Regions from separate parts of the Homo sapiens genome. Here all the other regions are linked to region 5. The links are contacts of gene promoters, found by promoter capture Hi-C in blood cells and fetal thymus (Javierre and others, 2016). All regions are on one chromosome and are shown on one strand. The core of a region is centred on a gene start or on the middle of the fragment in contact, and the rest is flanking DNA. Distances in the headings are between cores, read along the strand shown.

Evidence for each region. Contacts are between HindIII fragments. The CHiCAGO score rates a contact against its expected background, and 5 or more counts as called.
Region 1: a contact is called between a fragment that was not itself captured here and the fragment with the promoter of SERP2 in region 5, in 1 of 17 cell types (M1 macrophages). The highest score is 5.2, in M1 macrophages.
Region 2: a fragment that was not itself captured here is called in contact with the fragment with the promoter of SERP2 in region 5 in 1 of 17 cell types (total CD4 T cells); the score reaches 5.1 in total CD4 T cells.
Region 3: a contact is called between a fragment that was not itself captured here and the fragment with the promoter of SERP2 in region 5, in 4 of 17 cell types (naive CD4 T cells, total B cells, naive B cells and 1 more). The highest score is 6.1, in naive CD4 T cells.
Region 4: a contact is called between a fragment that was not itself captured here and the fragment with the promoter of SERP2 in region 5, in 1 of 17 cell types (M2 macrophages). The highest score is 5.1, in M2 macrophages.
Region 6: a contact is called between a fragment that was not itself captured here and the fragment with the promoter of SERP2 in region 5, in 2 of 17 cell types (naive CD8 T cells and naive CD4 T cells). The highest score is 5.2, in naive CD8 T cells.
Region 7: a fragment that was not itself captured here is called in contact with the fragment with the promoter of SERP2 in region 5 in 7 of 17 cell types (M2 macrophages, M0 macrophages, M1 macrophages and 4 more); the score reaches 9.1 in M2 macrophages.

Annotation. Positions count from the first base shown.
Region 1 is chr13:43,935,047-43,939,157 of GRCh38, forward strand. No RefSeq gene overlaps it. Among named protein-coding and RNA genes, the nearest start is that of LACC1, 57 kb to the left of the region's middle. The HindIII fragment of the contact is 1,644 bases long and covers 866-2,509 here.
Region 2 is chr13:44,011,894-44,016,003 of GRCh38, forward strand. LOC105370182 (a long non-coding RNA gene) reads right to left here and starts at 3,149. Exons shown (of 6, transcript XR_941918.3): 1 at 2,942-3,149; 2 at 1,369-1,457. The HindIII fragment of the contact is 1,522 bases long and covers 1,528-3,049 here.
Region 3 is chr13:44,029,679-44,033,570 of GRCh38, forward strand. It overlaps NRAD1 (non-coding RNA in the aldehyde dehydrogenase 1A pathway), which reads left to right. Exons shown (of 3, transcript NR_026955.1): 3 at 1-785. Among named protein-coding and RNA genes, the nearest start is that of NRAD1, 9.3 kb to the left of the region's middle. The HindIII fragment of the contact is 2,593 bases long and covers 867-3,459 here.
Region 4 is chr13:43,899,590-43,903,251 of GRCh38, forward strand. No RefSeq gene overlaps it. Among named protein-coding and RNA genes, the nearest start is that of LACC1, 22 kb to the left of the region's middle. The HindIII fragment of the contact is 1,507 bases long and covers 1,083-2,589 here.
Region 5 is chr13:44,372,427-44,376,396 of GRCh38, forward strand. It overlaps SERP2 (stress associated endoplasmic reticulum protein family member 2), which reads left to right and starts at 1,398. Exons shown (of 3, transcript NM_001010897.3): 1 at 1,398-1,683. The coding sequence starts at 1,600. It overlaps LOC105370297 (a long non-coding RNA gene), which reads right to left and starts at 1,140. Exons shown (of 2, transcript XR_001749858.3): 1 at 971-1,140; 2 at 1-771. The HindIII fragment of the contact is 1,852 bases long and covers 654-2,505 here.
Region 6 is chr13:43,984,665-43,988,323 of GRCh38, forward strand. It overlaps LOC105370182 (a long non-coding RNA gene), which reads right to left. Exons shown (of 6, transcript XR_941918.3): 5 at 2,037-2,163; 6 at 1,914-1,956. Among named protein-coding and RNA genes, the nearest start is that of NRAD1, 36 kb to the right of the region's middle. The HindIII fragment of the contact is 7,532 bases long and covers 1-3,659 here.
Region 7 is chr13:43,917,388-43,921,445 of GRCh38, forward strand. No RefSeq gene overlaps it. Among named protein-coding and RNA genes, the nearest start is that of LACC1, 40 kb to the left of the region's middle. The HindIII fragment of the contact is 190 bases long and covers 1,259-1,448 here.

The DNA of each region.
Region 1 (4,111 bases), core at 438-2,937, 440 kb before region 5:
TTATATTTATCTGTAGTAATAATTCCATATATAAATTAAACTAAATTGAATTTAGGCAACAGGAAAACAGACCCAACAAATCCACCCTGAAATATTTTAGTAATCTATCAATCAAAGGGATTAAAAGAGATTTTAAAAACCCCATGAACATGGAACCTCAGTATAATCTGGCATACACAAAAGTAGTTTCTGAAATGTGGCAAATCGCCAGTCCTGGCAAATTGGGAAGGTAGTATGCCAATTACAGAGTGAGAAGTTGAATAGCACCATGGAGAATTAGGAGCAATAACACAGGATGAATGCCTTCGTCCTGATTTAGCCTCAGGTGGTCCTCACCAGAATCTGACAGGCAGATACCCTGGGATTCAGGGAATATTATAATCCCAGGGAATTCAGTCCATTGTTAATGTTGGTCAGGAATCATATACAGTATGAGTTAAGAAATACCAGAATTCATAAAGTAAGAATGTTTCTGCCTCTTTGTGGGCACCTGAAAATTGAATTGTCTGCCAACAGGAAGGGAAGCAGCAAGCAGATTCCTCAAGAGAAGGGGAGAGGCTTTGGTTCTCTTTACTTGCACACTTTTCTATAGGTAGTAAAACTATCAGCATCAGTCCCTTAGTCTTAACTGCAAAGTATCCCAGAGTATCAACTAGGGAGCTGTTGATCTGCAAATCCTCCATCTTCTCCCAGACTTTCTGCATTTGAAGGCCCCCCAAGGGTCAGCATCTTGTTTGAAGCTTAAAATAATTGCTTATCTTTATAGAGGCAGAGAGGGGTCTGAGGGAGAGAATAATGAAATAAAGACTAGTGGAAGCAGAAAAAGAAGGAAGTGTTTTGGATGGGGAAGGGAGAGAGAGCTTGAAGCTTAGGAACAAATTGACCAGTTTGGAGGGTAACCTTTTTCTCAAAAATCCAATTGAAAGTGTTCACAAGTCTGTACATCTAACCGTGTTGGCTGGTTTGCAGCAGCAGAGATGATGACAAGACTGTGTGACTCCTGGATGGAGGAAAGACATTCTTGTGGTGTGTCCCAAGAGACCTTCTGCCTTCCAGCTGACAAATCATCTGTGCTTCAAAAAAATTTCTGCTTCCAATCAAGACTGAAACTGAGAAATTTTCCTGACAAGAGTGGAAGTTGTAGCATGCACAGCCTGTTAGATTTGCTTCCTTTGTTTGGTGAGAAATAAAATCACACTCCACCAACAAATTGGAATGCCTAGGATATTCTCTGTCTCTTTCTCACTCCCTCACACATACACCTGCCTCCCCTTTGCCCCACGTGCATGCATACATGTGCACACATCTACCTTACTACTTTAGAGCCAGGTCTAATAGTGATAGACATAATCTCTGTCTGTCTATCATCTATCTATCTATCTATCTATCTATCTATCTATCTATCTATCAATCATCTATCTATCTATCTATCTATCTATCATCTATCTATCCATTCCTGTCACTGTCTCTGTCTCTGTCTCTTTCCAATAGTTCCTAGATTATGGCTAAATTTCCCCCCACATTTGGTAGGACAAAGACTTTTTACCATTAAGGATTTTTTTTTTTAATGTCCCTGCTACCAGTCATAAAGGAAATACCAAAAGGTCATTCCAAACAATTTTTTGGACAGAGGTTTACTGCTGAAATAGATGAAATAACTGATAATTTATCACAATAGCTAATTTGAAGGGGATAACTGGCACCTGGAAGTACAGAGCTGCTGTGTTGGTAAAAACAAAAGCAGCCGCCTTACTTTGTAATTATAGCTGATGTTAGAGGTTTTCTTTTTCTATTGTGGAGTTGTTGCCAAGGCAATAGCTTGGCACTCTTCTACACAAATGCTTTTCACATTAATCTACACAGGCTTCACAGATGTTAATTTTTGTAACACACCTATGCATTCCAGAAGAGCAAAATATATTTTTTAAAATCTGTTTTATATGGTAGGAAAAGAGCATTAGAAAACGTTTTTCTGGCCTCCTCTCTCGCTTCCAGGACACACTCACAGTGACCGTCATGGATTTTGAAATGGCCTCCAGACCTTAGCCCAGGACTGTGGGGAAAAGAGGGCAGGAAACCCAAAGAGAATCCACACGACAAACCAGATCAAGGACATGGCTAACGGTCAGAGTTGGAAGTTCTGCTGCTGAGACAAGGTGGAAGCCAGGAGGCAGAAACTCAAGAGGAACTAAAGCCAAATGTCACAGTTAGCAAAAATCAGGGCTAAAGCACAAGACAAGAACCAAAGGAGCGATCACTGTTGAGCAAAACAGTCTAGTGTCAGCATTCAGACACTGCCCTCGATGCAATTTCTGAACACTCTTGGGGCAGCAATGCTTCTTTAACCCCAACTTGAGGCAGCTCATGTAGAAAGCATCCACTATTGCTGGGCTTTGGGAGTGTGATTAATCTTGGAGGCAAGGTGAACTGTTAAAATTTTCACCCATCTTACACTGTGAAGAGACAGAATAAAGAAAGCCCTTCATACTTGTTGGTTCTGGAGTCATAAAGCTTACCAAAGTAGTAACATTGAGGCAGGGACTGGACCAGGGTGGGTGAGTGAGGTGCCTCAAGTACAAAACTTCAGGAGGCATTTACTCTTCAGGTCATATGAATGTGGGGCCACTGAGGCTCAGAGAGGGGAGGGGCCCCTTCACACCCCAGGCAGGGCAGCTCTGGACCTGACATCTGGTGCTCGGTGTCTCATTGATGTTAGGCCATGAGTTCATTTTGAATCAGAGTCTGTGGCGCTCATGGTGTTTCTTGAAAAAGAAAAACAACATTATTAATATTTAGCTACTCCCTGGCATTTTCTAATGTAGGATGGATACAAATAAACGCCCAAACTGGTGAAATAAAAAAATTTTGGTTAACACTATAGTAAAGACTTTTTTTTTCATATTCTTTTGCTGGCCAGGAAGTTCTAAATACCTTCCCAAGAGTATTTGCTGCAAAAAGAACAGAGAGGAAATAAATTATTGTGTGACTCCAGCAAACACTTGCCAAATGAATAGACAATGAATTAGAATTGGCAAAAGGGAGAATGGAACTCACATGAACTCAGTATCCTTTATTTTAGTTTCATTTAGTGGTTAAAGTCATACATTTGTTTTATTTTATGTACAATTTTTACATCTTTTTACAAAGGCTTTAAAAGGTATCTATATTAAGTGCCCACAAACTTTTCCTCTGAAACATCATTTAAATCACTCTGGCTGATTCTGCTCTCAACCAGATAAGGTATTAAGGAAAGACAAGAACAACAACAATAACAAAATGGTATGAAACTTTATCCAACCATGGCTTAAAAGGACTTATTGGTTAATTTGGATTTGGGTTGATGGTCAGGATGGCCTTGAAATTCATATTCTAAATTTAAATAGGAATTTCTTCAATTTTCCATTCAAGAAGTGATTCTCTTTCTTTTGTTCCACTAGGCTGTACAGATTGTATTCTCTGTTTCTGAGGCTGTCATCCGTTAGCAGGATTTACAGTTGCTGACAACTTGCTTTAATAATTCACAAGGAATAGAATCTATTTTGTGCTCTCTGTTTTCTCAGTCAGTTCAGTGATGCAGACAGATTAAAAACATGCTTTTTGTCAGTGAAATAAATTGAGAGGGCACAGAGACACCCTAGGAGGAGTAATACTGAACAAGATACCACTGTGAAATGTTTTCCCACCAGTACACAGCTAGATAAAACCAGAAACAGACCAGGCTCTGTCTTGAACCCTTGAATCTGGCAAGCCTGGTACTGAAGTTAGGCCTGCTCTCCAGGCATACCCCAAACTGTTGAGTTAATTTATATAGGCAACTGAATGTACTGGCTTTCAAGTTTTAGGGAAAGGAAATCATTTTAAGGACAAAATGAAATTCGAAATTCACACACAATTTATAAGCTGTGGCATTTTCTTTTTGTGAATTATGGTAGTAAAATGTGTAACTAGCACCTGTTATGTATTGTTTATATAGTTATCTGAAAAAGAAGATGCCTTTATTTCTGAGTAGCATCAGACAGCAGGGCAGGAAAGAGAAGGCTGCCTGGCCATAACTTCTACGCCTCCCTGGGTCATGCTATTGCTTCATGCTTCTTTAATATTAAATGTAACA
Region 2 (4,110 bases), core at 1,039-3,538, 360 kb before region 5:
TGGAAGTGAGTCCAAGTAGTTGACAACGTGAAAGAGTCTATTGTCAATCAGGAAGCCACATGGGGATCTTTGTCAATGCAATCTCAAAGACGTAGTGGAAGTCAAAGCCCAGTTTTAATGAGCTGAAAAGTGAATAGATTACAAGCAAGTTGACTTTGATAGTTCAAGAAGTGCACCTGGGAAGGAAAGAAGATGCATAGTGCTGTGGTTATAAGAAAGCTTGGAGATGAAGGACTCTTCATTGGTATTTATTTTTAATTAAAGAAGAGTTTAACCAAACATGTCAGGAATGCCCCGTAAGTGGAGTGACTTCCTGGTCTGAGCAGAGGGCATGTGGTCTCCATTTGCTTATAATTTCACTTACCCTTGCTTCTTAGTACTCTAAAATTTTCAGGAATAGCTTACCAACACCAACCAACAGAGCAGTAGACAAGTCCTCTAGAGAGTGTATGTGCTCATCTTGACATTCCAAGGAATAGCCCACACCTTGCCCCTGCCCTGTGGTCCCACATATCAGAAGTACAGCTGTTCACATTCTATTCTTCTCTTTTCTCCCAGCTTCCAATCTCATTCCCCCCACCCCCCCACATCAACCCTTCAACCCCTCTCTCTTTCTCTCTCTCCATCATTTTTTTGTGTGTGATATGGAATATTCTCCATGCAATTAGCTATTCTTCACAGATACAGGTTTTAAATGGCTGCATTGTATTCTGTGACATGAATTAATCATTACTTATCTCGTTGGACATTTGGTCTGTTTCAAGATGATTGTTCAGTCATCTAAATTTTTGTGTACAGTGGTGATTTCCTGAGGATATATTTCAAAAAATGTCAAGAAATGGAATCACGTGCACAAAAAAGTCATGTTTTTATGGCTTTTGACATATATTACCAAATTGTTTTCCCGGTAACTCAAATGCTTGATGATAACGAAGCTCTGAGAGAATGTAAGCCTTTGCCTTTGGTTGAACACATTTACATAACATGGTAAAATGGAAAGCCAGAAGAAATCATCTGACACACTTAGGGAAAAACCAGATTTGATTGTTTTTGCCCATATTTTGAATTTACTAAGTTATACAGTGCTGGCCTCCACATTTTCCACTTGTGAAAATGTATTAAGATAAATTAAATTGCTTCAGACATGCAGCTGAATTTCTCTGGTTCCCAGACTGTGGTTATTCCCTTGACTGGTCAGCCTGGGGTGAAAAGCACTTCCTGGCAGTCAGCAGGTGTGTTGTGCTGGAATCTAGAAACATGACAACCAACAAGAGGAAGGCTTTATCTACCAGATTAAACAAAAGGCATGGTGGATGCATAAGGGGTAGCAGTAAACATAACCTCAAGGAGAGGGGCTGAAGGACCTACCTCCTGCCTAGTACCCCACAGGGCTCTGAGCCTGGTCCCTTCCGGGTTGTAGTCTCTGATCCCCAGATTCTAGGATCTTGCTGAATGGCCTGAGGACAAAAGACATTTTCCAGAGGCTTCCCCTAAGAAGGTTTGCCAAATTTCTGGGAATACGTACAAAGCTTGAGCCACAGAAAGCCTGAGTGATCCGTGAATATAAACACATCAGTAGTGAAGTCCAGCTTTACGTTTTTGAAAAAAGCCCCTTTTAAAAATGTCTTGGTTTTCAAAATAGTACGTTTCCCAAATTATATTTATAGAGTAGCATCAAACAAGAAAGCTCTTTGATAAAACCCTGCCTATTTCTGGAAGGGTGGAGATGGGAAGATGTGGATGGGAGTAATGTTTGTTCACAGGCCGTTAGCTGCTGAGCTTTGATCATTCTGCAGAAAAGAGGTAAGATCGTTATGCCACCAATCCGTACCCTCAAACTGAACCTTGTTAATAAGTCTTGTCTCATCCACTCCATTAATGATCAGCAAATGACTAGAACTCTGGCCAAAAGGCCTAGACATCAGGATGAATGTCAAATAACAGCTGACACTGCCAACTAAAAATAGCACTTTGGATTTAAATGGGTGACTCAGACTTGATTTCCTATGCTTGCCTGGGATAATACGGTACAGAGCAGGGTTGTTTTATGTTTTTCTTTTTTCCTTTCATGTGAAAGGAGGGTTTTATTGCAATCGTCTGGGCAGTGAGCTCAGAGTCAGCTCTGTGGGAGTTGAGTGCACCCAAACTTCTACCTCCGAGGCCCTGGGGGCACCTGGCACTGTCGGCTTCCTAAGCACATCTGTGCACTTGACCTTGCAGTCCAGGTCAGCAAAGAATGAGAGATGGCTTAGGAAGTTATGTCAAAATTTAACACCATTTCCAGAAACTTCTCCCTTTGTGTTCTTCCCATCATTCTCCTTCACACAATGGAACCAATTAAAAGGCTAACCAGTTAATTGCAAATGACACAAGCTACATAACCCAGGACACCTCTTGAAAGAGATGGCAAACTGGAAAACCAAATGTATCTTTCCAGAATATGCCCATATATATAATGAATATTAAAATGTTGACCAAATTGACCAGATAAATATTTAAATAAGGTCTATAATGGAACATTACATCTGTCGCTCATTTGAGTTAAATACATTTTCACTGAGTTAGTTAATTAATATTTGCTAATCAGATTGGTCAATGAGGTTTTCCTAGTTTCAAACAGTGACAGAATATGTCAGGCCAACCAAAGATGTTTCAACTATGCATTCCCAAGGTTTTTGCCCCATCAAATGCATACCCCTGGAATCTAGATAAGTCTCTATTTACATACAAGCGTCTCCTCCCCTTGTACATTTTCCCACCCTACAGCCCGTTGCCAGATCCCGTTATACTCAGGGAATATCCTGTCTGCCTAGGCTCCCTTCCTGGCTATTAGAAGTCAAAGCCCTTCGCGTGACAGTAAGAACGGAGCCTGAAAACGATTCTGCAAGTCTGGTTTCTACAGGGATCACGGGCCAATAATACCTGTCCAGAACTCACTTACCAGTTCCAAGTGGGTCAGCACAGCAAGAGGACATCAAATTGTGAAACCTACTAGTTATGGAGCTAGGCAGAACTGAGGTTATGATGAGGTTCAGAGTTTAGACAATGAAGCTTTGAGGAAAATTCCCATAGCTGGGAATTCATAGCAGCTTTACTGTACTTCTTAAACCTCAGACTTAGATGTGGGAGGAGCACCTGGAGTTGATACAAAGTAGATGCAGCAGCCAGTGGCACTCAAATTCAGAGTCAGAGCTCCCAACAAAATTCAGTTAAGAAATCACAACCTAGTCAATTCTCAGCCTGTAGGCTAAAATCAAGTGTGAGAAAATCGCAGCCCATAGACCCTAGCCCAAATAAACTGGACTCTTTCCACAACTATGCTGGCCTTTTGCAGTAAGCCTAAGTGCTTTAAGGATGTATCTGTTCTGGATCTCACTGTTAGGCTGTGGTCAGACAGGCTGGTGAGCTGGGAAAAGCCTTTGTGAGGCCCGGAAACTCTTTGGTGGCTGGGAGCAACTTGGGAAGGGGGAAATCCCCTCTGGCCTTATCTGTCCAAGCCCTGCTTTCTTCTCTCCTCTATCTTCCACTCCTTTCTTCTCTCCACGAGTGCCTCAGAACCATCAAACCCTCTAGTGCCTTAGCCCTGATGTTAGGACGCTGTTGGGGCCTTGGGCGTGGCTGCTGAGTGCCCAGTCTCTGGAAGTGAGTCGTCCATTTGTTGGGATGGACAGGGACCCTGCACAGGGACCCTGTGGTTGATACTGTCTTGTTCCAGTGCTGGTTTTGAATCTTGGCCAACAGAACACAGAGCTCGTGCCACATGCAGTGAGCATAGCCCCTCCTTGGAGCCTGCCTACCTTTTCCCAAAGGAAGAAGAGTGGACAGTTTTGCAAACAGGAAAGGAGAATTTATGTGCTTCAGGAAGGGCAGTGCCTCTAAGAGGGAGAAATAACACTTGTTAAGAGGGAGAAGCTGTGTCTAACTGTGTCTTTCTTGGTTTGCCTAAATGTAGGCCATTCAGTGGCTTCTCAGGAGAGAGATAGGAGCGAGGGAGGGAGAGAACGGGAGAGATATGCAGGGAAGGAGATTAACCTGGCATCTTGTTATTGCAAAAGAAGTGCCACAGGAAATAACAATGTCTGGAGAAAGAGTAAATAAAGTGCCCTTGTG
Region 3 (3,892 bases), core at 913-3,412, 340 kb before region 5:
CCTTCGTTTCTTTCTTTTTCTCTTTTACTTTCCTTTTCTTCTCTTCTCTTTCCTCTGGTTTTTAATTTTAATTTTAATTTTTGGCCTTCCTATACCTCCATTTGCCTCTCCAGGAAGCTGAATTCCAGACAATTAATCATTCATCTCATCAGTTCAGCAAAGCAAATGCCCTCAATGGTTTCTTTTGTGATTCGATTATTATGGGATCAGAATGTATCTTATTCCTCTGGGAAAAATGAAACATAAAAATTTCAGAAATAAGGTTTTGGGCCAGCTTCATTGGTTTTAAGAGAAGGAAGGGAGGAGACTCATGCAGGTTTGACGCTGAGCAGCACCATGTGGTTGGGCCTGGCAGGCACTCGAGGCTTTAGGTCTTGGTTTGAATCCAGACTAGAAAATCATTACTTATTAAAAGCCTTGAGGATATGGGTCTAGGAAAGTCTATGTGAAGAGATAATAGTTTGGAAAAAGTTTTGCAGAACTAAAGAAAAGTTTCCACAGTTACCTTTTCTGTCCTAATGTAGAGCATCTTTGTTAACTAGGTCTTGGATCAATCCAAGCTGTGTCTGAGAATAACCATTTATAATTTCTCACTGGCCAGCACTAACACCCTTTAGAAAAGGAACTCAAAGCAGCCCTAGCAGCCAGAGTCATGCGATCATGGTGGGAGTACAGCTCCTCACCAAGGTCAGCTCCTCAGTGAAATCCATGCCTTCTGGAGGACTGCTTGTAAATAAATATTAAGCACAACCATTAAAAAATAATTTGGCTGTGACCATCAAATAGTGAAAGAGTGTATCAATTTCATTATTATATAAGCATACATGACCAAATTCAGCTAGAGTGGAGTCTTGGCTCAAGTACCAAGCTTGGATTTCCCCAAGGAACACTTTCCCATAATTCATAATGAAAATCTTTCCATTTACTGTGGTTCAACTATTTGCAGAATTTTCAGGCTGGGCTCAGTGGCCCTAAATTTATGCATGCTGGTATACTGAGAAGATCACCATGTTACAGAGGCTCTTCTCTCCCAGTTTACTCCTGGAGTCTATTTAATTTGCAGCTCTAACTCTGCGTTCCCAGGATTGCATCAGTTGGACTTTCCTCACATCTCAGCAGCCGCAGTTGGGTTGAAATGAGATACTCCCATCTCTGGTCACTGTGCTCTGGCCCTCCAGGACATTCCTCTCACCCGCTGCCCACAGCATAGCTGCTGAGAGTCCTCTGCCCAGGAGTCCCAAGTGAGAGGACAGTCTTGACTCTGCCTGCCCCCCTTTAGTGACATCCTTCAGGGATTCCTCAGTTCATTCATTTCCTAGGGCTGCTGAAACAAGTTACCCCAAACTGCGCAGCTTAAAACAATACAAATATTATGCTTTCAAAGTCTGAGAGTCAAGAAGTTGAAACTCATGGTGTTGCCAGGACCATGCTCCCTCTGAAGGAAGGAGAAGAGTCCTTCCTTGCCTCTTCCTAGATTCTGGTGGCTCCTGGCATTGTGGCTGTATCTCTCCAGTCCCTGCCTCTGTCATCACACGGCCATCTTTCTTCTTTTTTTTGAGATGGAGTCTTGCTCTGTGGCCCAGGCTGGAGTGCAGTGGCGCGATCTCAGCTCACTGCAACTTTCGCCTCCCGGGCTCAAGCGATTCTCCTGCCTCAGCCTCCTGAGTAGCTGGGATTACAGGCGCGCGCCACCAGGACCTGCTAAATTTTTGTATTTTTAGTAGAGACGGGGTTTCACCATGTTGGTCAGGCTGGTCTCGAACACCTGACCTCGTGATCCATCTGCCTCAGCCTCCCAAAGTGCTGGGATTACAGGCGTGAGCCACTGCGCCCAGCCGTCTCTTTCTTCTTATAAGAACACCAGTCATTGGGTTTAGGGTCCATCCTAATCCAGTATGACCTCATCCTAACCTAACTAATTATATCTACAAAGACCCTATTTTCAAATAAGGTAGCAATCTGAGGGTTCCAGGTGGACATGAATTGAGTGAGGAGGGGAGGGGCACTTTTTAACCCAGTATACTCAGGGACCTTGCTGACCCTGCCTCTCTGCTCACACACACCATACAGGGTCACCTGGTGGTGACTGCTAAAAGTAACAAGCTACCATTTGTCTTGGATTCCAAACCAATTCAGAAGAACCCTGGGAGCCGCATGACTATGAAGAACTATTTCTCACCATGGAAATTACAGCAGAACATTCACTGGGATCGTTGTTTGTTATGAAACAGGTACTAGACTTAACTGGCTTTGAAGGGTAGAACATATTTTAGAATATCTGTTATATGGTTCATTAGACTTTGTTTTTATTTTTATTTATTTATTTATTGAGACAGAGTCTCACTTTGTCACCCAGGCTGGAGTGCAGTGGTGTAATCTCGGCTCACTGCACCCTCTCCTCACAGGTTCAAGCAATTCTCTTGTCTCAGCCTCCCAAGTAGCTGGGACTACAGGTGCCTGCCACACCTGGCTAATTTTTGTATTTTTAGTAGAGACAGTGTTTGGCCATGTTAGCCAGCCTGGTCTTGAACTCCTGACCTCAGGTGATCCACCTACCTAGCTAGGCCTCCCGAAGTGCTGGGATTACAGGTGTGAGCCACCATGCCTGGCCTCATTAGGCTTTAAAGCAATAATTAAAAAAATAAATACCCTGAAGATGTTGAAAATAAGGCATAAAGTTGGTGTGGCAGTCAAAGAAGAACACATCAGCTTAAAAAATGATAGAAATAGCTCTTTGAAAATTGCCCTTACAGGCCGGGTGTGGTGGCTCACACCTGTAATCCCAGCACTTTGGAAGGCTGAGGCAGGCGGATCACCTGAGGTCAGGAGTTTGAGACCATCCTGGCCAACATGGTGAAACCCCGTCTCTACTAAAAATATAAAAATTAGCCAGGCACAGTGGCGGGCACCTGTAATCCCAACTACTGGGGAGGCTGAGGCAGGAGAATCGCTTGAACCCAGGAGGCAGAGGTCGCAGTGAGACTCCGTCTCAAAAAAATAAAAAAATAAAAATTAAAAAAAATTAAAAAATAAAAATTGCCTTTACAGAAAAAGATACTGAATTGTACATTGTGCTTACCAAAATCCAGCTCTAAGAGTCCATCGTGTACCTGATATTTTTTCCAAGTTGAAAATGAATCAGGGGGTTGAAGTCACTTGAAAGAAAAAATTTTTTGAAAAAAACTCTGTTACGTCTAAATTGTAGCAACTCCTCCTACCCTCATATACAATGCCAGCTGAGCTTCTGACAAGCTGCTCAATATATATCTAAAGTCAGAATCGAGATTTTGTACTATGATATATGGCTGAGTTATAGTGAAGAGAGAGCAGGGAGACTTTGCTCATTATCCTGCATTAGTCAGACTAGATTTACAGCTCAAAAGAACAGTCACGGTAACTGAAGTGCAGACCAGGAACTTGAACTGATGAAAATCACTTCTATTTAAATGAACACTAAGAAGCTTGCTGCATATAGTTGTTATAATAGCCTTAAGAAGATCACTTTGCCAAATGTTTCCATCCAAAAAGAAATAAGCCAGACTAGAAACAATCTGGAAAACTCTACTTTTTCTGTATTTCCTTTTCCCATGAGGATGGGAGAGCTCAGGATGTGGAGAGGAGCTGACAGAACTCATCTGTGTCTGAATCTAGAGAATTGCAAAGAGGTGGAAGAGGCAGGTATTGCTAACAAGGCAGAGGGCATGAAAAATTTCAAGGCAATTTTTAAATTGTATGGGCGCTTGGATTATTTGAGCATGCCTAGCAGGTTATGTTAATGCCTTAAACAATGTTTGTCAGGAAGCACCATAGCAGTTAAGTTACCAGCATGGACCTGAGAACCAGACAGACTTGTGAATGAGTCTCTCTTTTGGCTCCATGAGTAAAGAAGTTA
Region 4 (3,662 bases), core at 586-3,085, 470 kb before region 5:
AAGGCACTCCCACGTTTTTTGCAACACTATTCACAATAGGCAAGATATAGAATCAACCTAAGTGTCCATCAACAGATGAATGGATAAGGAAAATGTAGCATATATACATAATAGAATACTACTCAGCTGCAAAAAAGAATGAAATCCTGTCATTTATGGCAACATGGACGAGCTTAGAGGACATTATGTTAGGTAAAATAAGCCAGGCACAGAAAGATAAATACTACACATTCTCACTCACGTGTGAAAGCTAAAAAAAAAAGAAAAAATAATGATCTCATAGAAGTAGAGAGTAGAGTGGAGGTTACTAAAGGCAGGGAAGGGTAGAAGTTTTGGAGGGATAATAAGAGGTTGGATAACATAAAATTACAGCTAGATAGGAGGTATATAAGCTAGTTTTCTACAGTGCTGTAGGGTGACTATAACAATTTATTGTATATTTTCAAATAGCTTGACAAGCAGATTTTAAACGTTTCCAACACGAAGACCTTATAAATGTTTGAGGTATTGAATATGCTAATTACCCTGATTTGGTCATTACACATTGTACACATGTATCAAAATATCATACTGTGCCCCATACAAAGGTATTATGTGTCAATTAAAAATAATAAAAGCAAAAAAATTTTAAAAAGAAAAAATACTGCTTGAAGATACATGTCTCCTGTGGGAATCATGTATGTTAAAAGCTAATATTTATTTTTAAAAGCTAATTCTTTCCACTCCTGTAATAATATATGTTTAGTATTTATCTTATAGCATACCCTATCCATGCCTTTAGTGAAACAAATGCAAACTATTTAATCAATGCTCTATGACAGTTACCCAGAGAGTGAAGACCAAACGTAGATCTTTTCCACAAAAATTCCAACTTTTCTATAGTTTTGTTGATATTTGATAGTAAAATAGTCAAATGGTTTTTTGTGTTTTTTTTTTCTCTCAGTAGTCTCTATTTTTAGAGTAGTTCTCAACCTTGGCTATATAATAGAATCACCTGTTAAGCTTTAGGAACCCTGATGTCTAAGCCACATGCCAGACCAATTAAATCAGAATCTGGGGTAGGACAACATCAAGGCTTTTAAAGCTTCCTGAAGGATTCTAATGTATAACCAATTTTGAGGACCCCTTCTCACTAGGTACTTTTATATCTTCAATGTTTAGTTGCATTTATTAAAATAATATATATTTAAAGTGCTGCAGGCTGGGTGCAGTGGCTTACACCTGTAATCCCAGCACTTTGGGAGGACGAGATGGACGGATCACCTGAGGTCTAGAGTTCGACACCAGTCTGGCCAACATGGCGATACCCCATCTCTACTAAAAATACAAAAATTAGCCCAGCACGGTGGCGTGCCTGTAGCCCCAGTTATTCGGGAGGCTGAGGCACGAGAATCACTTGAACGCAGGAGGCGGAGGTTGCTGTGAGCCCAGATCGCGCCACTGCACTCCAGCCTGGACGACAGAGTGAGACCCTGTCTCCAAATAATAAAATAGTAATAATAAAAGTACTACAAATAAAGAATGCTTGCAGTGGAGATCTGTTTTAAAGCATTCAGCCATGTTTCTTTACCCATCTTTAGACATTTGTTTCACCTGTGGTAAACTTTAGACTATTATTAAGTCTAACCTGATTTAAATTTAGAGCTTCTCACCTCCCCAGCTTAGACCAGACAAGCACTGGGGCATAAAGCATGATTTGTTCTCTATTTTCCCAACTGTGATCATCTTTTTCACCTACTAATGCCAGGGTGTTGATAGCGAGGGAGGATGAGAAATAGGTTGTGTTAGGGGGCCACCTCTGCAACTCGCCTCCTCGCCACTACCACACACCCATTCAAACAAAGTGCTCTCCAGCGGACCATTTACCGCACCCATCCAGCTTTGATGGTACACTCTACATAGCCTCTTCCTATTTTACAAAGACCGTTGTAGCCTACCTATGCTCCCTTAAACCCACAGGAAACTTGACATTTTTGCCCCATCAAATTCTAGATGTCCAAACGATTCCCAATATAGCCTTGTTTCTTTGCTATCCAGGCAGCTCCAGGCACTGACCAGCCTCCTTTTTTTCAGACTGAAGCAGAGGAGAGTGAGGCAAAGGTCACAGTGTATTCAACTCCCAAACTTAGGGGACCATAGGTCGAATTTAACTTAAACGATCTGCTTTGGTTCCCTGCAGCACCTGGCTCTGATGTAGGGAGATGGGGCTTTTTTTTTTTTTTTCAGGAGTAAAGGGAAATGCACAAGACTATGATAATGCTCTTTAAAAAATTCTCAGCTGGGCGCGATGGCTCAAGCCTGTATTCCCAGCACTTTGGGAGGCCAAGGCAGGTGGATTGCCTGAGCTCAGGAGTTCGAGACCAGCCTGAGCAACATGGTGAAACCCTGTCTCTACTAAAATACAAACTAGCTGGGCGTGGTGACAGGCACCTGTAGTTCCAGCTATTCTGGAGGCTGGGGCAGGAGAATCACTTGAACCTGAGAGGCAGAGGTTGCAGTGAGCCGAGATCACGCCACTGCACTCCAGCCTGGGCGACAGAGCGAGACTTGTCTCAAAAAAAAAAAAAAATTGATCAATTTCCCTTCTGAAGCTTTAGTCTCTGCAAGAATATGGGGTTACCGCTCTTAGCTTTGGCCTCTTTTTAATTTTATTTTATTTTTATTTTTTATTTTTTATTTATTTATTTGAGACAGAGTCTCTCTCTGTCACCCAGGCTGGAGTGCAGTGGCGCGATCTCCACACACTGCAAGCTCCGCCTCCCGGGTTCGCGCCATTCTCCTGCCTTAGTCTCCCGAGTAGCTGGGACCACAGGCACCCGCCACCACGCCCGGCTAATTTTTTGTATTTTTAGTAGAGACGGGGTTTCACCGTGTTAGCCAGGATGTTCTCGATCTCCTGACCTCGTGATCCGCCCACCTCGGCCTATCAAAGTGCTGGGATTACAGGCGTGAGCCACCGCGCCCGGCCAGCTTTGGCCTCTTAACAAAGACTGCACAACAGGAAAAATCTCATGTTATGTTTTGTTACAGCTTTATGGGAAATCACATTTCTAGGAAGGAAGGAAAATTCAATAAAATGAGAGTCAATGAATAATTCCTTGACATGATTTCATCAGTGTAGCAACCATTGTTGCTTCTCAATCTGCTGGAATAGGAAGCACACAGAAACACCTTGAAATATTCCTTCCACAAATGTTGAGTCTGAATCTAATCAAGCTCTAGAGCTAACCACATGTTTATAAAAAATTTGGAGGAGGAAGGAGTAAGTTAAAGGATACCACAATTCAAAGTGTGGGACAATTGGTCTAATTTTTGCAAATGGTCAATGGTAAAAATTGAAAGAAAGAATGAGAGGGGGACTATTAGATTAAAAGAGATTTATGAGACATGGCAATCACAAGCAATGAGTGGACCTAGTTTGGAGTTTCATTAGAATAAGCCAACTCTAAAGACAGGTGTTTTTAGATAATTGTGGAAATTTAAATAAAGGATAAGTATTAAATGATACTAAAGAATTATTGTTAATCTTGTTAGATGTTAATGACATTGAAGTTATGTTAGAAATATCCATGTCAATACATATTGAACTATGTAGGGATAAACTAATGTGTTATCTGAGAGAGGCCACTAAATTCTTTAATAATAATAAAAAAGGCATGGAT
Region 5 (3,970 bases), core at 148-2,647:
TAATTGGCCTGTAGAGTAGGAAAAAAAAAAAATGACTCTACTAATGATCCTAGGCAATTCTGTCTTCTAGGTTACAGCAAGCAGCCCCCAGAATGGCCTTTATTGAAGCCTGAGTGACAAGAAGCCTGTAGCGGGGTGAGGGGGACCCGCTTGGAAAAAGGCCCCAAAAGAGGAGCTCTTCCTAACTCTCCAATGACATGGGAAAATTTTACTCACACAAAATTCCCTGGAAACCCAGCCACCTCCCGCTCCAAGAGAAGGCCTAGAGATGCAGTGGCCAGAGACAGCCTCAGGCCTTCTTCCCCATGCTGGGGGTGCTGCTGCTTGCCTTCACCCCGACCCGGTATCCCCACTTCCCGCTGCCCCAGATCTCCCAGGCTGAATGTCCCCTCTTCGCCTCCACTCTTCTGAGCTTCTAAGAGCTAACTCCAAGTGAGGAACTGAACCCCTTCCACCCCTACCTCCCCAGGCAATCTGTAGAGCTCTTGAGCCCTAATACCAGTGTCTGGGAGGCGCGTAAACGCTTCCATTTTTATCCTTCCACTGCAGAAAATGCCCAGTTTAGTCTGGGAGACACTCAGACCCCTCGGGACAAGGGTGGCTAGAGAGAGGTCCAAGCTGCCCTGGGTGGGTGGGGAGTCAAGGCAGGCCAAAGCTTCAGATTTAGACAGTAACCACCAAATCCGACCTGGGCTGCAGGTCCAAGGCCTCTTCCTCTTTCCTGCATGCTCCGCTCTGCCGCTGGCCCATCTTCCAATGCAACCCCTACAACTACCAAAGCAAAAAGGCCTGTCCCAACTCCATCCTCACGGCCCGATCCCCAACCCTCAGGGGATGCCGCTTCGTGTCTCCTCTTTATTTTACAACGCGGCCCTCCTTGCAGCCCTCACGAAAAGTTCTGCAGTGGGGTCCCCCAGCGTGGGGCCCTTCTCGAGACCCTTAAAGAGAAGGCTCGTTTGGTGGACCATACCCGGGCAGCGCGGGCCCGGGCCTGGACTGGTTCTACTTGTGTTCTGAGGTCCCTGACCACCGCCTTGGGTCCAGCCCTCGTCCAGGGGGCGGCGGTGCAGGGGAGACCGCGCGGCCCGGCCTGAAGCGCGGCCGCCCTCATCCCTTCCCCGGGGCTGGGGTGGGTCACCGGCCGACAAACACAGGAGGGGCCGCGTCCCCGTCCCCGACGCGCTCACAAACGCCGTGGTCGCCCGAACCTTCGGCCCCGCAGCATTCGGCTACAGGACCGCGACACTGCAGGGCCCCGGCTCTGCGCGCTGCGCTCCGGCCGCTCGGCGCGGGAGGACGTGCGGTCGCGCCTGCCTCGGTGGCCGCGCGGGGTAGGTGGCTGCGGGGACCGGAAGGATGGCGAGGAAGTCGGAAAGGGTTTCCTGAGATGAGAGATTACTTCCGTCCGGGCTGCGGCCTCTCTCTGGAGTCGGCTAGCCGGGGCTCGGGGAGCGGGGTGCGCAGGGCTCGGGGCCACGCCTTGCCACCTGCAGCGCCCGGGTGGGCCGCGGGGGCCTCGGCGGGACGCGCTCGGCCCTGTCGCAGGAGCTAACGCAGGGGGAATCCTTGCAGGTGGGAGCATTTCAGAGCGCACAAGCCATGGTGGCCAAACAGCGGATCCGGATGGCTAACGAGAAGCACAGCAAAAACATCACCCAGAGGGGGAACGTAGCCAAAACCCTGGTAAGGCGGGGTCGGCGCCGGCCAGGCAGAGCCCTGCAGCCCGGCGGGGTGGGGCGGAAGGTGGGGGCGGGGCCGGGCGGGTAGCGGCGCAGGGTCCGGCCTCCCGGCTCCCGGCCCGCCCCTTCTGCGGGGTCCTGCAGAGTGGGGGCTGAGAGCTGGGTTCAGGGCGGCGCGGTCTGCTTGGCGTCCTCGTGGGCGGAGAGGGCCCTGGTTGGTCGTGGCCCCTCTGGGAGTGGCTACCTGGGCTACCAGGGAGGCGCAGAGGAGCCCTCCTCCCCGACCCGCACCCCCTGTCCCCCTGCCCGGGAGACAGCTGGGCCTTGTCCCGGAGAAAGACGGAAAGCCTCATCCTTAGGGGCCAGTTAAGTCAACTGCATGACACAGAGCCTGGAACCTAGTATGTTCTAGAACGTTGCATGACACAGAGCCTGGAACCTAGTATGTTCTAGAACGTTTGTTGAATGAATGAATGAATCAATGGCTAAATGGAGGCCACTTGTCATCTCCTCCCGGACTCCACCTGTCTTCCCTCCCCAACAGACTTGCACCAGGATCAAGTTTTCTTTCCAGCCCCTTTGTGACGGTTTCACTGGAGGTGTGGAAAGAGCTCAAAATGGGGAGTGAGATTTGGACCCACATTCCCTCCAGCCTCTTTTTTCTCTTTTACCTCTCTTCCAGCGAGACCTCCCTCAGCCCCTAGGCTAAAGTCTAAGGGCAGCATTCCTATTCTTTCCACTTGGTGAATTCAGACTCATTCTCATGGTATAACTTTAGAGACCAGTTTATTGTCAGGCATTCGGTGTCCCTAGAACTGTAAATTCAAGCTTTGCAACTGGACTTTTAAGTAAAACCTGTGCCTTACACTCAGGAGTTTCTTTTAGCAAAGCAGATTATCATCAACAGAAAATGCGAGGCCTGTGACTTTGGACATTCAGAGGCATGAGTCGCATGGGTAGTTTGGCGAAGTTGGTCTCCAAGTATATGAGCAAAGGCGCCTGGGATCTGTTACCCCGTACAGTTAAGTGGAAATCCAGCTGAAGCCTGGAGTTTGGCTGGGAAAGCTTGCAGATTTGATGAATCAATTCCTTTTAGCCAAAGAAACTATATTGGTTTGATTAACTAAGCAAAAAGCTAGATCTGTAATCATCACACCAGAATTCTTGCAAAACCAAGCAGTATTACGGCAGAGAAACTCTAGGACCAAACTCAACTCTACTCAGAGCTTTATACACAAGTCTAAGCATAACTCAACTCTACTCAGAGCTTTATACACAAGACCTAAGTAATCCTTAAAATTCTCTCATTTAGGAATTATATCACTCAGTTGTGATTAGGCAGCAAAATGCCAAGATGCCATCAAATTGGAACCATTTTGTCACATTGATTTATGTTTTCCCTATTTTTACTGAGGAAAAAAAAATGGCTGCCCGGGTTGACATTGAGAAGCAACTTATAATTGATGTTAAGGCATGCAGGGTTTTATATCCCTAAGAGATCAATTCTTCCTTCTCAAGGGATCAGACCTGCTAACTGACACAGTGAAAAATAACTAGTCATGTGGCTCTTTTTCATGAACTAAAAAACCGGAGTTCAGTTGTCAGATCTCAGTTGACAGCTTATCTGATTACAAAAGTAAGAAGAAAACAAGAACTAATTTCTAAGGCTGTTGTATCTATTAGGTTCTGTAGACTCAGTGTCTGCCACCTCAAGTTCTTCAAGAAAACTAGAAAATGTTTGGGACCCAAAACAAAAATTATTAGCTCCAAAATAAAAGAAGAAAATGGAAAAATTGGGAAAACATTGTTTAAATACCTAGAAAAGGTACCAGTCACCTGCCATTCAACTCAATGTTCAGAGCTACATTTAAATTATATTTAATGTACAGTATGAGTTCATTTTAATATGCTCTGATATGTCATGGGGTGGCCCCCAAGAAACTCTCATAGTGCCTTGCACCTATAAGAGTTTTTAAATGGCCCAGCTAAATTTGTAATGAAAGGTTTCCAGACCAAGCCACAATCAATGTTTGCTTTGCATTGGTTGGGGGGATTTTGGTTAATGTTATTGTAAATAGATTACTATCCAATAGAAAAATGAAATTTTCTTTCAAAGAGAAACTTGATAAATCCTAAATCTCATGTTCTCAATTACAAGTCAAATATGATTATACTTTGTTAAAAGTAACTTGCAAAAGATCACTATTCAGGATGAAATTCATTAAATGGGAACAAGTATAGATTCCAACTGAAAATTCAGACTAATTGTTCAGAAATAAACTTCTTTAATT
Region 6 (3,659 bases), core at 902-3,401, 390 kb before region 5:
GCTATTACAGTGTGAGAATTAGAGAACAAGATGAAAAAGGTGGGATACAGAGACTATTTTAAGATGTGGTGCTGTGGGTTAGGAATTGTAGGTTCTTTAATGTTTTCTGAAAATGGAGAGCCAAGGCTGAAATTACTCTGTAATGCCTTTTTGTTGCTGGGTTGTTTCTGTGAATGTGACACTGGGCTGAATTGAACCACAGTGAAATCTGGAATTTATTTGATTTGCACATAAATGGGATTATATCAACCATACTGCTTTGTAATTCCTTTTGTCTTGAAAATATGTGATGGAGCTTCTATTTGAGTCAACCAATATGAATTACATGATTCTTTTCAGTGGATGCATAAAGTCTCTTGTATGAATACCTCGTATCTTTTTGAACTAGTCTCATGTTGGTGGACATTTTGGTTGTTTCTAATTGTGATGAACATCTTGTGTATACTTGCATATTTATGTAACTACCTCATTGGGATAGATTCTTGGATATAAATTTTCTGCATGAAATGGTATGTACGTTTTACATTTTATTACATAACACCAGCAAAAAGTCATGCTGATTTATATTCCTCTCACTGTATATTAAAGTCCCATATCCACAAAATCTCATTCTTATCATTTCTTATTAGTTGGTGAAGATTAGCACAATTTTGACAACATATCTACAGTATACACATGAAGAAGCTGAAACCCAGAGAGATTGAGGGATTCTTGCCTAAGGTGTTAGAACTGATAGTTCTAGTTCATCGGCCTCTTTAGAGGTGTCATTGCCTGGAAGATCCAGATGATAATATGTCCATCAGGCCTTACAGAAACCACCCACAGGGAAAAGGAAGATACTTAAAACTGGCAAATGAAACAATTTCCAGTTCAATCCATCTGTGTAACAAGGGCATACACACCACTGTGACGAGATGATGTGTGTAAAAGTGCTTTGTAAATCACTGGAGATTGAGGCACTGTTTGGGAAAACAATTACCCCTTTCACCTGGATAATTAGGACTGTGTATTTAGCTAATAGACAGGAATTATAAATGTTTGCTGTTTGACCTTGCATTTGAGTGTCATTTTTATCATCTGCAACTCGATAGCTAAATTCCTAGTAAATGAAGCATTTATTATAAAAAGTGCTGACACAGTACTAAATCTGGACCACTTTTCCTTGTGATAGCCTGATGATTAAAGGCCAGAATGTCCAATTCTGTGCTGTCTCATAGCAAATGTACTATAGGCAGTGTTCTTCCGCTGTTAATCCGTGTCCCCAGGTTGCCTCTGACCTTGACCCAGGAGGCCTGTTGACTCCATGCTCATTTATACTCATTTTGTCTCTAGAAACACTGATCCAGACAGCTCTTTCTGAGTTTATTTTACTTGCTCCGGTCCTGCTAGACTCTTAAGGATTTCAGGCACCAGAACAGCTGTGTTTAACCTTGTCCATTAAGTCCTTACCCAAGAAACCCGTCTGAATTGGTGATGTTTCTGAAAACACAAATGAGGCCAAATTACAAGTGGAGGAAGCATCTGGGTTAAAATAAACTGTCACCAGACAAAAGCTATCTCCTTCCATTTTCTTTTTTTGTAAGAAAAACAGGTTACTAGCTATAATCTTATTCTTAGGTAAAATGTGCTGTTCTAGTCTTTTTAAAAGCACTTGCCTCAGAATTTCTACTCAGCAATAAGAAGAGGGGGCAGACCCCGTTATCTGCTTGTAGTAATAAAGATCCACATTTATCTTCTGCAGTTCTGGCTTTGGTATTCTTACTTTGAACTGGAATAGCACAGGAAAAGTGGATTGAGGACCGCACAATTGGAGCATGACTTGTGTTGCCTGGTTACTGAGACTCTCCAGAGATTAGATTGTCAGGGTACTTAGATGCACAGAAAAGCAAACAAACAAACCTCCTACCTTCCTGGTAATTCTTTTATGAGGACAGGGCAGCTTCTAAAATTGGAAACCTAGATTAGGGGAGAAAATAGTTTCTATTAGCAGAAGAGGATGAATAGTAATTATCTTCAACGCTGTCAGGTGGCCTCACCATTTGTGAGTCATGGTCAGTGGGAAGTGGCCACACTCAGTATGAAGGGTTTCATGTTGCTTTAATTCTGGGGACCCTCAGATGATGCTGCACAGGCCTGCTGATCTTCAGAAGCTGCTCTACGCATCTGCAATAAAAGAGAAGACCTTCTAAGTCACTCACTGGTTTTGAAAGAAGTAACATAGAAGCAGGCTTTTAAGTATCCCTAAGGAGGGCACTATAGGATTTGTATTGGAAATGGATCTGAAGACTTAGGAGAGACTAGAAGATTAGAAATGCAGAGAGGTCAATTTGCTTCCACCAGCTAGTTTATAACTAAGTGTTGGCCACATTATCTGCTTTTAGCTCTGTGTCTTCATTGCCCTTCTCAGTGTTCTTTTTCCCTAGGTCACAGAACGTTTTCCTGAATCGGATTCTGGGTTAAAGCTGCCAGTAGGAAGAATTCACATGAGATTTCAAAGGTGGAAGAGAAGGAGAAGGTGTTTTTTTCTTGCAACAGTTTGGCTGGGGAGCTGAGATCTTCACTGAGGGCTTCCTTTGGCTCCGGGTTCCCGTGGACAGGCAGCCGATGTCATCAGTGGTGGCTTCTCTGTGATCACTATACCACCAGGTCTCCTAAAGTGGCCTTCTTGACCTTTGCCTCCCCAGCTCTTTCAATGGTTATGTGAAACTCTAATTATGTACATTAAATATCTTTCAGCTCATAATACATAGAGTCATTTCCCTCCCCACATATGGAGTAATTCTGAATGACATAAAGGCTTAAGCACGAAGGCCCAAAACCTTGGTCACCTATGTTGATAAATCTGAATTTTGATTAGCGCCAAATTATAGACCAATATATGTCTTACAGACGTTAAAAAACATATGGTATAATTTCATTTTTATAAAGTTCAAAAGCAAACTAATTTGTGATTTTAGAAGTAATGATGAGTGTTTATGTTTGGAAAAGGCTGAGCAGGGTGGGGACTTGATGGGCCATGAGAGAGGCTTGAGATGCTAGTAATACTTGATTTCTTCATCAAGGTTGTGCTTAGATGGTTGAGTTCTTTTTGTGATAATTCATTAAGCGAGATCATCATAATATGCCATTTTTCTTTCTTTTTTTTTTTTTTGAGATGGAGTTTCACTCTTGTTGCCCAGGCTGGAGTGTAATGGCACGATCTCGGCTCACTGCAACCTTCACCTCCCAGATTCAAGCAATTCTCCTGCCTCAGCCTCCCAAGTAGCTGGGATTACAGGAATGTGCCACCACACTAGGCTAATTTTGTATTTTTAGTAGAGACAGTGTTTTTCCATGTTGGTCAGGCTGGTCTCAAACTCCCGACTTCAGGTGATCTGCCCACCTCAGCCTCCCGAAGTGCTTGGATTACAGGTGTGAGCCACCGTGCCTGGCCAATATGCCACTTTTCTTTATATATATGTTAAAATTTAATAGAAAATTAATTTTAAAAAATTTAAGGCTGCTAGGAAATTTCATTTTCCTTGTGCCAATCCTAAAATGACAATTTAATTATTGAATCCAATCTTACTCTTTGACAGATGATACAACTGAGACAGCAAGAGACTAAGTAACCTGCTCAATGTCAACCTTCAAGCCCAGTTTTCCATCCATTTATAACC
Region 7 (4,058 bases), core at 104-2,603, 460 kb before region 5:
TTTGTTGGGCACTATGTTAATTATCCAAAATTTAGGAATGGATAAGACATAGTCTCTGCCTTCAAGAATCTCACAGAAGGAACTGTAAACAAAATTTGATGTGATGAATGCAACAAAAGCCTTTACAATTCTCTGAGGTTGGTGTTGTGGCCATTTTACACAGAAGAAACTGATACTCAGAAAGATTAAATGATTTGTCCAATATTATACAACAGATAAAACTGAAATTCAAATTTCAGTTCAAATTTGGGAGTGGGAACTAAAACCTTAAACTCTTCCTATCATTCCACATAACCTTCCCCTGAAAGTGAGCACAGAGGTGATCCAGTCTAATACCTCACTTGATACTGGGCTCTTGGTATCTGTAAGGTGACATAATGCCAACATCTTGGTCAATTGACCCCAGGATAACAGATTTAGAATGAATTACATATGCTTTCCCCTGCTCCATAATTCTACTCTTCTTACTTTGGTTAGATTTACTTAGAGTGCCCATCAAACTAATCTTGATAATAATATTAAGCAGTAAGTCAGATTTGCATACCTCTTTTGGGCTAAGAGAGATCTTAGATGCTGGAGGATGCTTTAGTCAGGCTGCATATTTTTAAAATATGTGAGTCACAGGCAATAACTCTTTAGTGGATAGAACTTTTGTTAATATAAACGATTCTGATGACAAAGGTATAAACTGAACAGACCATTTTGTCCTTCATTTCTGAGAAGTAAAATGTCTGTGGTCAGTAATCAGGTATCCTGAGGGCTAGTGTGTAAGTATAATTATGACTTTCAGCTCTATTAGCCACTGTGAAGCTATTACTGTAATGTTTTATTTTAATATTTTCTTAATGTGTATCATAACAGTTTCAATATAAAATGGCTCTTCATATTTGTGCAGAAGAATTTTCATGAGTTTGAAGAATATTCGCCATAACCCTATTGAGGCAAATTATAGGTACCATATTATTGTTTCCATGTTAAGAAAGAGAAACTGGAGAGAGAAAGAAAATATGCGCTTAACTTTGGTAAAGTACCAAGTCACTGGAAAAGTCAAAGATAGGACTGGAGTCTAGTTATTACTAGCCTGGATAGTAGACTTTTGATTCTTGAAACAAAACTTTTAGGGAAGTATTAAGGGCACAAAAATAAACTCAACCTCTAAGGCTTAATTTTGTGTGGCTTGTCAGAAAAAGATTGAATCATCACATTTAATGCTGGGGCAAGAAACCAGGATAATTATGAATATTAGAAAGGGCTCAGAAGCTTGTTGAATCACAATATTTCTGTGCCATCATTTTATACTGAAGGATATTTATGTTCCGTTTATTTTTTGCAGTGAGTTTCACGTTGGTTGTTTGGGGTTGATTTCAGTACGCTCCAGTTATGGTTAGGGCAATACTAAATGACAGTGTTTTGTTACTTGAGTTCTCCCTCTTCTTTCACAACTCCCAAGCTTGTCAGTACTTGAAGGATTGCTTCCATGGACGCTCAGTATTGAAAGTGTGTCTCAGTATTGAGAGTTTCTTTCTCAAATAATCCCAGTCAAAGCTGCATACCTTGCTTCCCTTTCCTGAGGCCTGAGCACTGGAACGGGGCTGGACTGGGCCCATTCTTCAGGTAGCTTGCAATATTAAATGTGTTAGAAAATACTTTCAATAGACCTCCACAGAATCAGGAAAATAATGACAAGAAAAATACATACATCATTCCTAATTTTAGGTCTAGATACTCAGAGAATAACTGCCTTATTTAAAGTGGGCAAATACCCTTAGAGAGCTTTAGGGGCTGTTTCCACCTGTGTGCTTCTGAGGCAGAAACAGATTCTCAGATGTTTATCTTCTGAAAGGAAATTTGTTTACACAAAAGGGAGGTGAGGAGATGGCATGATATTTTAGAATGACTTGTCTATGAACCTATATGAGCAGACCACGGGCATAAGAAACTAGATCTATTGGAAATTAATATACTTTCTTTTTAATTTTTTTGTCTTATTTCTAAAGAGACAAATGGATGGAAAAACTTTTTGGCCCTCTTCCTTAGGATCAGAAGGTAAGCATCTTCTCATCATGGGATGGATTATTTGGAAACAAGTCCATTAAAGAGAGCAATTTGAGATGGGAATACTCAACCTATTTTCATGCCAATAATGGATCCTTCCTCATTGCTGTGTTTAAAAATTTCCTCAGCCTGCTTGGAAGGGCTGGAATTTATCAATTTAAGCATTTCCGTGACATCAGTTTTGTATTTCTCCATCTGAATTTCACAAATGCTTTTAGCTAGAAGGTATTTTTTCAGAATATTTAAAAAAGGTCAGAATAGCAAAAGTTTACAAGATCATTTTCTGTTTTTTTTTTCCTTTTGGTAAAATGAAACTGCTTCAATAGTCAATTGCCAAATGATCTATTCTAATTAAATAATTGTTTTCTTAATTATTTCCATGGCTTGCAGGGTTATGGTTTTTTAAAAAATTAAGTCCTATAGAAAACTCATGTAACTTGCACTGAAATTTTTTGCAAATCATTCCTTTCTCCTTTAAAAATCCTTTCATGTTTCTCTCCTGTAGAGATTGAATTACTTGTGTATCCTTTTTGTTTTAAGGCAGACTGTTCAATTTCTTTCAGTTTGTTGATTCAGTCATCACTTCTATTATAAGTATAATTCAACTAAACTTATTATTACGGGTTTTTTTTTTTATTCTTTCCTCTCTTTATTTTGGGAAATTGAATCAATATGCTAATGAATTTCTTTTCTGTGAGGGAGCCTTATTGTTCCTGTAATGAAGGTTCCTATTTATTTGGACATCTCTAGATACAATTTAATTGTTTTTTTGGTGGTTGAACTTTTTTCCTTTGGATAAACACCTATTCTGTGCCTTTCCCTTTCTGTACTTTTCTTTTTTCATGGTTCAGATGGTATTGTTCAACTATCTTAAGGAGAATTCAAACATTGCTCAGGTGAGATTCAGGTTTTTTGGTCCCATAATAGGGAAAGCAAAAATGATTATTAGATGAAGTGCATGCAAATGAAAACCAGAAGTTGAGATGGATGGAGCTGATTTTATTTCTAAGCGACTTCAGAATGCCAGTATCAGGGCTAGAACCCAAATGTATTCCCTCTGATTTCAGATCCTAGATTTGTTTATTGGCTGTGTTGTCTCACTGGTCCATTGGCCAGGTTTGTTTTCTTCTGAGGGAGAACAGTAGCTGGAAACAAATAGAAACTAGTTTACATCTTCCAGGAAAGATTTTGCCCTGCTAACTTTAGCTCCTTCCGCAAAGTTGTTAAAAGTCTATTGGCATGCTGAAGAAAAGGCATTCAAGTTCTTCGTCATTAATGAATTAATTAATCAACACACATTACTATCCACTATGCCCTGTGGGTATACAAAGATAAATACAAATAACACCCTCTGTTTATTAAGCAAACCCATTTCTAGGAACTTTTTTCGTATCTTCTTTCTAATTTTCACAACCATCTTTCAAGGGAAGTATTGTTATCCCCATCCCCATTTTACAATGAGTAAACTGGTATTGAGAGAGTTGAAGTGACTTGCTCAAAGTCACACAACTAGTAAATAGCTGAATTGAGATTTTTAACTCAGGTCTGATTCCAAACTCACTTTCATAGATCCTGCTCTTTTACTTTTCCATTAATGAATAGAACTTGATCTCTGCCCTTAGAAGATTACATGTACACAAAAAAATCACATATTGGATGATTCCATTTATATGAAATGCCCAGAATATGCAAATCTATAAAGACAGAAAGTAGTGTAAGAGTTGCCTAGGGCTGGGAGTAGGGGAGTAAGGAGTGACTGCTAATGCATATAGGATTTCCTTTTGAGGTAGAAAAAATGTTCTAAAATTGTTTGTAATGATGGTTTCACAGTTTTGTGAATATACTAAAAATCATTCAATTGTGTAGTTTAAATGACTGAATTCTATGGGATTATAGCAGAATAAAGCTGTGCATGTATTTTTTCCCCCCAAGGTTAACAGTATAATGAGGAAGATAGATCTATGACCAGCTAACATTTCCAGGCAACATATAAACAAATATGA